2 separate regions of the Homo sapiens genome follow, and region 2 is linked to region 1. Evidence: promoter capture Hi-C in human tissues and cell types (Jung and others, 2019). All regions are on one chromosome and are shown on one strand. Each heading gives the region's core, a stretch centred on a gene start or on the middle of the fragment in contact. The rest is flanking DNA. Distances are from core to core; before and after follow the strand shown. Region 1 holds the start of CCZ1 (CCZ1 vacuolar protein trafficking and biogenesis associated). Region 2 holds the start of ZNF853 (zinc finger protein 853).

The links. Contacts are between HindIII fragments. The study calls those that stand out against the background at their distance.
Region 2: a contact is called between the fragment with the promoter of ZNF853 here and the fragment with the promoter of CCZ1 in region 1, in 1 of the 25 tissues and cell types used here (lymphoblastoid cells).

The regions. Positions count from the first base shown.
Region 1 is chr7:5,895,472-5,899,982 of GRCh38, forward strand. CCZ1 (CCZ1 vacuolar protein trafficking and biogenesis associated) reads left to right here and starts at 3,262. Exons shown (of 15, transcript NM_015622.6): 1 at 3,262-3,448. The coding sequence starts at 3,329. RefSeq lists an enhancer at 2,400-2,479. The HindIII fragment of the contact is 16,541 bases long and covers 1-4,511 here.
Region 2 is chr7:6,613,583-6,618,093 of GRCh38, forward strand. It overlaps ZNF853 (zinc finger protein 853), which reads left to right and starts at 2,028. Exons shown (of 3, transcript NM_017560.3): 1 at 2,028-2,604; 2 at 3,608-3,725. The coding sequence starts at 2,593. RefSeq lists enhancers at 158-911, 912-1,665. The HindIII fragment of the contact is 23,550 bases long and covers 1-4,511 here.

The sequences.
Region 1 (4,511 bases), core at 2,012-4,511:
CTGCAATGAATTCTATGTGGGAGGAAGGGAGAGGCAAACATGTACAAGGACACAGAGGTATCCTGGGAGAAACTGTGACTCATACTATAAAATATTAATCTCACTCACTTGTATAGCACCTTGTGCTTTATTTTTATTTATTTATTTATTTATTTATTTATTTATTTATTTTTTGAGGCAGAGTCTCACTCCATCCCGCTGCTGGAGTGCAGTGGCGCAATCTCAGCTCACTGCAACCTCCGCCTCCCAGGTTCAAGCAATTCTCCTGCCTCGGTCTCCCGAGTAGCTGGGACTACAGGCACCTGCCACCACGCATGGCTATTTATTTTTATTTTTTAGTAGAGACGATGTTTCACCATGTTGGGCCTCAAACTCCTGACCTCAAGTGATCTGCCAGCCTCGGCCTCCCAAAGTGCTGGGATTACAGGCATGAGCCACCACACCCAGCCAAAACATGTATTTCTCATGGAATAATTTCATGCACTAGAGCAAGCTAATTGGGAAAGTCAATAGCAAGGAGCAGTAGCAATCGTTTATGAAATAATGATGAGGTGCTGGCACCTGATGCACATTCATAGTCCCATTTAACTCTTCAAGTGAAACTCTCACTTGGCAGGAATTTACTATTAGCCATTTTCCAAATAAGAGATACAGACAAGAGAGTCTCCATCTCTTCTTTGGTGCAAGGAGATTGGTGCAGTCGGTGAGTGGCAAAAGTGGATATGTACCCAGATCTGTCTCCAGTCCAAATTCCAACTCATCACTTCCCTAAAAGTGGTCTATTCTGCCAGGCTGGATAAGGGAAGTGGTTCTGCTTCCAAACTTAATATGTGACAGATAAGGCAATCTAAACCAAAGTCTTCTTGAGCTTGGTCAAACCATATGCTGCCAAGGCTTGAATCCACATAACTGTAACAAGCCATCCCAACTATGCCACAACCCACACACCTCAAAGGCAAGGGAATCCCAGGCAGCAAGGTCCAGGAACAGCCACTCTGGGGAGTCTGCCACCTCTGATATTGCTCCCGTGGCACACACGGTGCCCCATCTGCCTCCAGACCTGCGCTGAAGGAATGGGGGAAAGGGGCAAACTTTGTAGGTGTGGGTGATCCAGTGGTCACTTGAGGTCTCTCAAACAAGGACTCTGTAGATGATGTTAATGGGCCAAACGGAATGCACATCTGCCCTTAAGTGTGTTTCTTTTCTTTCTTTTCTTCTTTCTTTCTTTCTTTTTTTTTTTTTTTTGTTGAGACAGGGTCTGGATCTGTTGCCCAGGCTGGAGTGTAGTGGTGCAATCTTGGCTCACTGCAACCTCCACCTACTGGGTTCAAGTAATTCTTCTGCCTCAAGCCTCCCAAGTAGCTGGAACCACAGGCATGTGCCACCACGCCTGGCTAGTTTTTTGTATTTTAGTAGAGACGGGGCTGGTCTGGAACTCCGGGCCTCAAGTGATCCACCCACCTTGGCCTCCCAAAGTGCTGGGATTACAGCTATGAGCCACCGTGGCTAGCCTTGTTTATTTCTAAATGAGGCTTCCTTTGTGTCTCTACATTTCCTTCTACAAAAAAAACTGCCATGGCACAGGGGCTTATGCCTACAATCCCAGCACTTGGAGAGCCCAAGGCCAGTGGATCACTTGAGTCCAGGAGTTCGAGACCAGCCTGGGTTAACATAGTGAGACCCCAGCTCTACGAAAAATTTAAAAATTAGCCAGCCATGGTGGCATGCACCTGTGGTCCCAGCTATTCGGGAGGCTGAGGTGGGAGGATCACTTGAGCCCAGGAGTTCCAGGCTGCAGTGACGTCTGATCTGGCCACTGCAATCCAGCCTGGGCAACAGAGCAAAGTGCTGTTTTAGAATAAAATACTTTTTAAATAAACTAAAAACAAAACAATGGACCTGGTGTGGGTGGCTCACATCTGTAATCCCAGCACTTTGGGAGGGCAGGTGAGGCAGAATAGGGAATGAGGGTAACCAAGGGTTAAGGCATAAACAAAAGAACAGCAGGTGCAGCCAGTTCTAGGCAAGATTAGGCAGCATAGAGGCCACGTGTTCATTCCCTCAATCAGAGGCTGATTGATGGACGACGGGGGGGGGGGCGGGGGGGAGGGTGACAGCCTCTGATTGACGGGGGGGGGGGGGGGGGCGGGTGCGCGTCTCCACTTCAGCCTCTGATTGGTCACAGGCCAATCCTTCAGAGGGTGTAACCAATCGGAGACCTCTAACGGGCACCTAGGGGCGTTACCTAATTCTTCCAGCTTAATAAAAATCCTAATGGGGGCTCTTGAGCTGTTTGCTCTAGCTTGCTCCTGCTCTGTGAGTTGTACTTTCGCTTCAATAAATCTGTTTCTTCCTTACTTCAGTTTTTTCTTTTGTTTCTTTTCGTTGCTTTGTTCTTTTGTTACTTTGTGCATTGCATTTTGTTCAGTTCTGTGTTCAACAAGCCAAGAACCTGGGCAATCCACGGTCAAGACCTTCCATCCAGTAGCAGAGGCAGGAGGATCCCCTGATGCCAAGAGTTAGAGAGCAGCCGGGGCAACAAAGTGAGACCCTGTCTCTACTATCTATCTATCTATTTTTTAATTATCTGGGCATGGTAGTGCATGCCTGTGGTCTCAGCTACTCCTCAGGCTGAGGTGGGAAGATCCCTTGAGCCCAGGAGTTGAGGCTGCAGTGAGCTATGATGGCACCACTGCACTGCAACCTGGGTGACAAAGCGAGATCTTGTCTCTAAATTAAATTTAAAACAATACCACCAAAACAACAACAGGCTGGGCGGTGGTGTCTCACGCCTGTAATCGGAGCACTTTGGGAGGCCGAAGTGGGAGACCATTTGAGGCCAGGAGTTCGAGAGCAGCCTGGGCAACACAGACCCCACCTCTACAAAAAAATAAAACTGGCCTTGGTGGCGCGCGCCTGTAATCCTAGCTACTTGGGAGGCTGAGGCAGGGGGATTGCTTGAGTCTCGGACGTTGAGGCTGCAGTGAGCTGAGATCGCGCCACTACACTCCAGCCTGGATGACAAACTGAGACCCTATCAGAAAAAACAACAACAAAAAAAAAACAGTGCCCGCTCGGTTTTTCCTGAAACGCGCAGCCCTCGCCTGTAGCCAGGAGAAAACTCCGCGAGCCAGGAAAACACAAACTCGGCCAGGAAACAGCCACCCGGGGGTGCCTGAAGAGGACGCTGCGAGGCGGATTCTTTTTCCGGGCCTGCGGCGAGCGCTTCCGGGGCGGTGGCGACGGAGGCGGAAGTGCGGTGTTTTAGCCGGTGGCTGCTGTCTCTGGGCGGGCCGTGGGAGGCTCCCGAGGTGGGGGCCGGGGCGGGATGGCTGCAGCGGCGGCCGGGGCCGGGAGCGGGCCCTGGGCGGCCCAGGAGAAGCAGTTCCCGCCGGCGCTGCTGAGTTTCTTCATCTACAACCCGCGCTTCGGGCCGCGCGAAGGACAGGTATGCGGAGGGGGCGGCGCGCGGGCGGGCGGCGCCGGTGTTCCCCGGGAAGGTGGCCCTGTGGTTCTGCCCACCTCGAGGGGCACTGACCTAGCCTGCATTGTGCCAGGTGCGAGTCCGGGCAGGGGGCTGCGGCGGGGACCTGACAGCAGGCAGGGACCGCTTCAGGTCCTAGGTCGATGGAATAAAGCCCCGTCGGGTCTATATCACTCCACACCCCAGGTTGAGGCTCTTTGCGCTTTGCTTTGCGTCAGTTCTGGGAAATTAAAATTGAACTTGGCTTTGTTAAGTGGGTAGTCCCCAACTAGAAGCGTGGAACCAGGGTGGCAGACGCTAGCCTTCAAATGATGCAAGCCTGGAGGTCCCTGTAATAGTTTTCGCCCAAATGAGGAAATAAATTAATTTCGGGAGGGGGGTGTGTGTGTGTGTGTGTGTGTGTGTGTGTGTGTGTGTGTGTGTGTGTGGTTTTTCTGAGGTGGGGACGGCGACTTTCTCAAAGGATGTCCGGAGCTGTGTTTTGTTTCCAGCAAGTCAGACTTCTGTTAAAGACTGTCCAGGCTGGGCGCTGTGACTCACGCCTGTAATCCCAGCACTTTAGGAGGCCGAGATGGGAGGATTGCTTGAGGCCAGGGGTTCCAGACCAGCCTGGGCAACATAGCAAGACCCCCAACTCTACAAAAAAAAAAAAAATTGAAAAGTGAGCCGGGCGTGGTGGCACGCACCTGTATTTCCAGTTACTCAGGAGGCTGAGGCCAGAGGATCGCTTGAGCCCAAGTGATTGAGGCTGCAGGTGAGCTGTAATAGCGCCACTGCACTACAGCCTGGGCAGCACAGACCCCATCTCCAGAAAAAGAAAAAAAAGCAACTTGTCAGTTCAAATGGCTGGGAACTGACTGGATTTAATTTTCAGGGAGCTATGTGTCTGCAGATGGGCACACCTTTATTTCTTACAAGCATTGGTGTATTACAAATTAGCACTAGGAAAGAAACCTAGAGACTTGAGTTTTCATAAAAATTACCTGGTGCTACTTCAGATGTGACTTACTGACTATCGAAATTGCCT
Region 2 (4,511 bases), core at 778-3,277, 720 kb after region 1:
CTGCCTTGGCCTCCCAAAGTGCTGGGATTACAAGCATAAGCCACTGCGCCTGGCCCGGGTAGCATGTTTTTAAGATGGGAGAGCCCTGAGGATGTGTAAATCCTGTCAGAAAGAAGCCAGTGGAGGGAGAGGATAAAGACCTGAGGAGGGAGGGGCTCCTCAGGGCATGAGGGTTTGCAGGAGGCTAGAAGAGGCAGGTGCACACCTGCTCTGATCTTAAACTCCTGCCCATATCCTCCTCACCTTATCTGCTCGTCCTTATCCTGCCTAGCAGGCTGTCATCTCCACTTCACAGACGCAAGGCAGTCATTTGCCTGCAGTTACCTGGCTGCAAAAGGTCCCATGACCCTAGATGACTCTGTCTCCAAAGCCAGGCTCTTGCTGCACTTTTTCTAGCCTGGGGCAGAAGCCACCAGAGTGCAGGCTTTTCAGGCAAGGGCCAGAAAGGAAGCCTGAAACTCCAGTGCCTGTGGGGGCCAGAGAGATTCCAAAAACAGGACAAGGTGGCCACCTGTGCCACAGCAGTGTGAGCCCAGGGACAGGAGGAAGGGAGGGGGCTGTGAACCCTGAGGGCTCTTGTCCCCCACCAGGGGGGCATTCCTGCTGCACCCCAGGAGCACCTCCCAGATTCAAGCGATTCTCCTGCCTCAGCCTCCAGAGTAGCTGGCGTTACAGGCATGTGCCACCATGCCCGGCCAATTTTGTATCTTTAGTAGAGATGGAGTTTCTCCATGTTGGCCAGGCTGGTCTCCAACTCCAGACCTCAGGTGATCTGCCCGCCTCGGCCTCCCAAAGTGCTGGGATTATAGGCGTGAGCCACCGCGCCCAGCATGTTTGCTTGTTTTTAGATGGAGACAGGGTCTCACTCTATCACCCAGGCTGGGGTGCAGTGGCGCGATCATAGTTCACTGCAGCCTCGACCTCCTCCCGGGCTCAAGTGGTCCACCCACCTTGGCCTCCAAAGTAGTTGGGATTACAGGCTACTTTTCAGTAGCCCAGCTAATTTTTTAAAAACCTCTTTTGTAGAGATGGGGTCTTGCTATGTTGGCTAGGCTGGTCTCAAACTACCAGCCTCAAGTGATCCTCCCGAAATGCTGGGTTTACAGGCGTGAAGTACCATGCCCTGCCCCCAGATCTTTGGTTTTTTCTAAAGAATTTGAGCATCCCAATTTGAATTTGAATTCTCCAGGTTAGAGAGGTTTGTGCACCGAGAACAGGAAAGTTAGGTGGTGCAACATTAAGACGGGGTTAGGGAAGGCCTCCCTTGGAGAAGACCCCTGACCCAGGCAGGAATCCACTTGCCAAGTAGGGAAAGAGGAGAGGAGAGGGTGAGGGAGGTGGGAGGCCTGACCACCAGCCTTGTGGTCAGCGAAAGGCCGCAGGGGCGCTGGGCGGGAGGATTCCAGCTCTGCCAGTTCTCCACGGTGGCCTCATTTGATCTATGCAGGTCACAGTCCCTGATCGGGGGAGGGAGGCACACACTCCCTACTGGCCTGCCCTCCCCAGCCCCGGGGTCTAGGAGGAGGGCTCCACGGTGCGGACCGGGGTGGCCTCTCCAGGGCCCGCTCGGGCCGGGCCCGGATGGCGCCTACTCCCTCTCCGAGTGCCATCGAATTGTGTGCTAATTAGCCACAATTTGCACCGCGGCAGGGGCGCCCCGAGGCCACGCCTGCCCTCTAGGGGGTGGCAGGGATCGGGTTGGGTACCCCCCACCCAGACACCCAGGCAGTGACAGTCGCCAACCCCGTGGCGCGAGGACACGCGCAGCAGGGATGCGGCACAGCGCGCGCTGCGCTCGGCACCGGCCAGCCCGGGACGCCCCAGGGGCCGCCGCATCGTGTCCCCCGGGCCGGGTGAGTGGCCGGGCCGGGAATGGTTAAGCCCACCGAGCTGCGGCTGCCTAGAGCGGCGGCGGCGACGGCGGCGGCGGCGGCGGGGGCCGGGGCGCGGGGGCGCGGCGGGCGGGCAGGGGCGGGGGACAGGATGCGGATGCCGGGGGGACTTCCTGTGCCGGCCCCCGCGCCCCCGCCCCCGGCCCGGCCAGCGGCCCGCACGGACGCACTCCCGGGCGGGCGGGCGAGCCCAGGGGGACCCGGCCTTGCCGCGGCGCCCGCCCCGCCCCCGCCCCGGCCCCCGCGCGGCCCGGCCCAGGCCGCCCGCAGGCTCCGGGCACCTGTAGCCCCCGAGGACCCGCGTCGCCTGGCCGCCGCCGACCCCAGGCGGGGCCACCCCGTGGTGCCGACCCCGGGCGCCGGCCTGGATCCCGCTGCCCGCGATGGTCCCGGGGGGCCGGCCCTGAGCCCCGCGCGGGATTCGGGGCCCTGCCTCCCGCCCCAGCCCCCGCCGGAGAGTCTCCACCAACTTCTGCTCGGCCGCTCCTCTCAGCCCCTTCCCTTGGCCCAGGGCGACCTCGGCAGCCCAGAGGGCGTGGACCCTCCGGAGTGCCCAGAAAGCCCCCGGGGTGGCCCTGCGCCTCCTGGCTCTTTCTGGATGGAGGCGCCTCCGGAAGGAGCCGGCTGCACGCCGTGGCCTTCACCTCGCAGCCTCTGCTGACCACACCTCCCTAGCGCAGAGGCTGCCCGGGAGCAGGAAATGCTCCACCAGGTGAGGCCCAGGGGGTCGTTGGCGCTGGGCAACCGGGGACGCGTCCCTTGAGAGAGTTTGGACTGGATGGCACGAGTCGGCCTGTTTAGGGGAGAGGGGCCAGCTCTGCACGGGCCAGGGTGGACTCTCAGGAGCGCCTGGGCACAGGGCCAGGCCGTGGGTGACAGTGCTCTGGACACCTGCCTTGCCCGGGAGCTGGGGTGGCAGCTGACACACGTGGCCTGCTGGCGGCCTTCTCAGAGCAGGCCAGGAAGGCAATAGAATGGAAGGGCGCCAGGCGCAGTGGCTCACTCCTATAATCCCAACACTTTAGGAGGCCGAGGCAGGAGGATCGCCTGAGGCCAGGAGTTCGAGACCAGCCTTGGGCAACATCATCTACAATATAAAAAAACATAAAAATTAGCTGGGGGTGATGGCACGCACCTGTAGCCCCAGCTACTCAGGAGGCGGAGGCAGGAGAATCGCTTGAACTGGGGAGACGGAGGTTGCAGTGAGTCCAGATCGCACCACTGCACTCCAGCCTGGGTGACAGAGTGAGAATCCGTATCAAGAAAAAAAAAAAAAAGTATTTAATAAAAAAAGAATTGAAGGAGGCAGGGAGGATGTTGATGGACAGTCTCTCTTTGGCCCCAGAGCTCCCCGCCCTGAATGTCCCTTTGGTGACTCTAGCTTTCCTCCCTTGTGAAGGGCTGATACCCACAGTTGTGTCTCTGTGGGGCTACCCCACTCTCCATCCCGCTGTGAAAAGTCAGGAGAGGCAGTCCTGCCTCTATGCAGGTGACAGCCTCTGGTGCTGTCTGCCAACTCCCCAGTCCTGAGCCTCCAGGCCGCCGGCACTCCCCGTTCCCCGTTGCGGGGGACAGTCCTATAGTTGCAGCAGGTATGGAGCTGACCGCTCTGGGTGGCCCGAGGCAGAGGTGGAGGGCCTTTGGGGGCCTGTGGGCACCTGGCGGGGGTCAAAGCACTCCAGCCTGGCTAAACTGCTTCCTTCCTTTCAGCACAGCCGACTCCCGGGAATCGGGGTCTGACCGCCAGGATGGAAGTGGGGCCAGCCACCGAGACCTTCGTGCTGGAACTTCAATGTCTTGAGGATGGGGGCCCAGGGCCTGACACCCTCTCAGGTGAGGGCCTCGGGGGATCCCTTGACAGAGCCTCATGCCTGCCTGCTGTGGCAGAAAGAGGCTCAAGGGTGGCGGGCAGCCTGCACAGACTCACACCAGCCAACCTCAGCTGCATTGAGTAACACCAGCAGCTCTCCCTTGAGATTTTCCAAGGTGGCTGTGTCAGGCAGGCTGAGGCCAGGCTGGTGAGGGGCTCCCCGCTCCCCACATGGGTGCTGACTGGACTTAACACTCACACGCGCTGCTGGCTGGAACTCATTGCTGTGTTTCCTGGCAGCCAGAGGGCCTCCACCATCCTCCCACCTGGCCCCAGCTCCTGAGTCAATTTCCACTCAATTTCCCGGATCCGATTCAGGTACTAATAGGCTCTCTTCCTCTGCCCCTCCTGCCCCAGATGTTGGCTCCCTGGCTTCTTCTCCCCTGTGGCCTCGTAACCTTTTCCACTTTAGCTTGACCTCTGCTTGCATCTGTTTTTCTCTACCTGATGCCCAGGGGCAGATGTGGTACTGCAGAACCTTCCAAGACCTCTTCCTCTGGGACCCACTCTGGGCAAACCTTCTCTGGTGGCCACACTCATGAGAGCCAGTTTCCATTCTGTGCTTTAAGGGTGCTGAGTGAGGGCCTGGGGCAGGGCGGGACAGAGCTTGAAAAGGACCAAGGGAATTGGAGGGGGTGGGATGGGGATGTGTGGAGTCAAGAAGGACCGTTCTGACCGAGCATGATGGCTCATTCCTGTAATCCCAGCACTTTGGGAGGCCGAGGCGGGCAGATCAGTTGAGGCCAGGA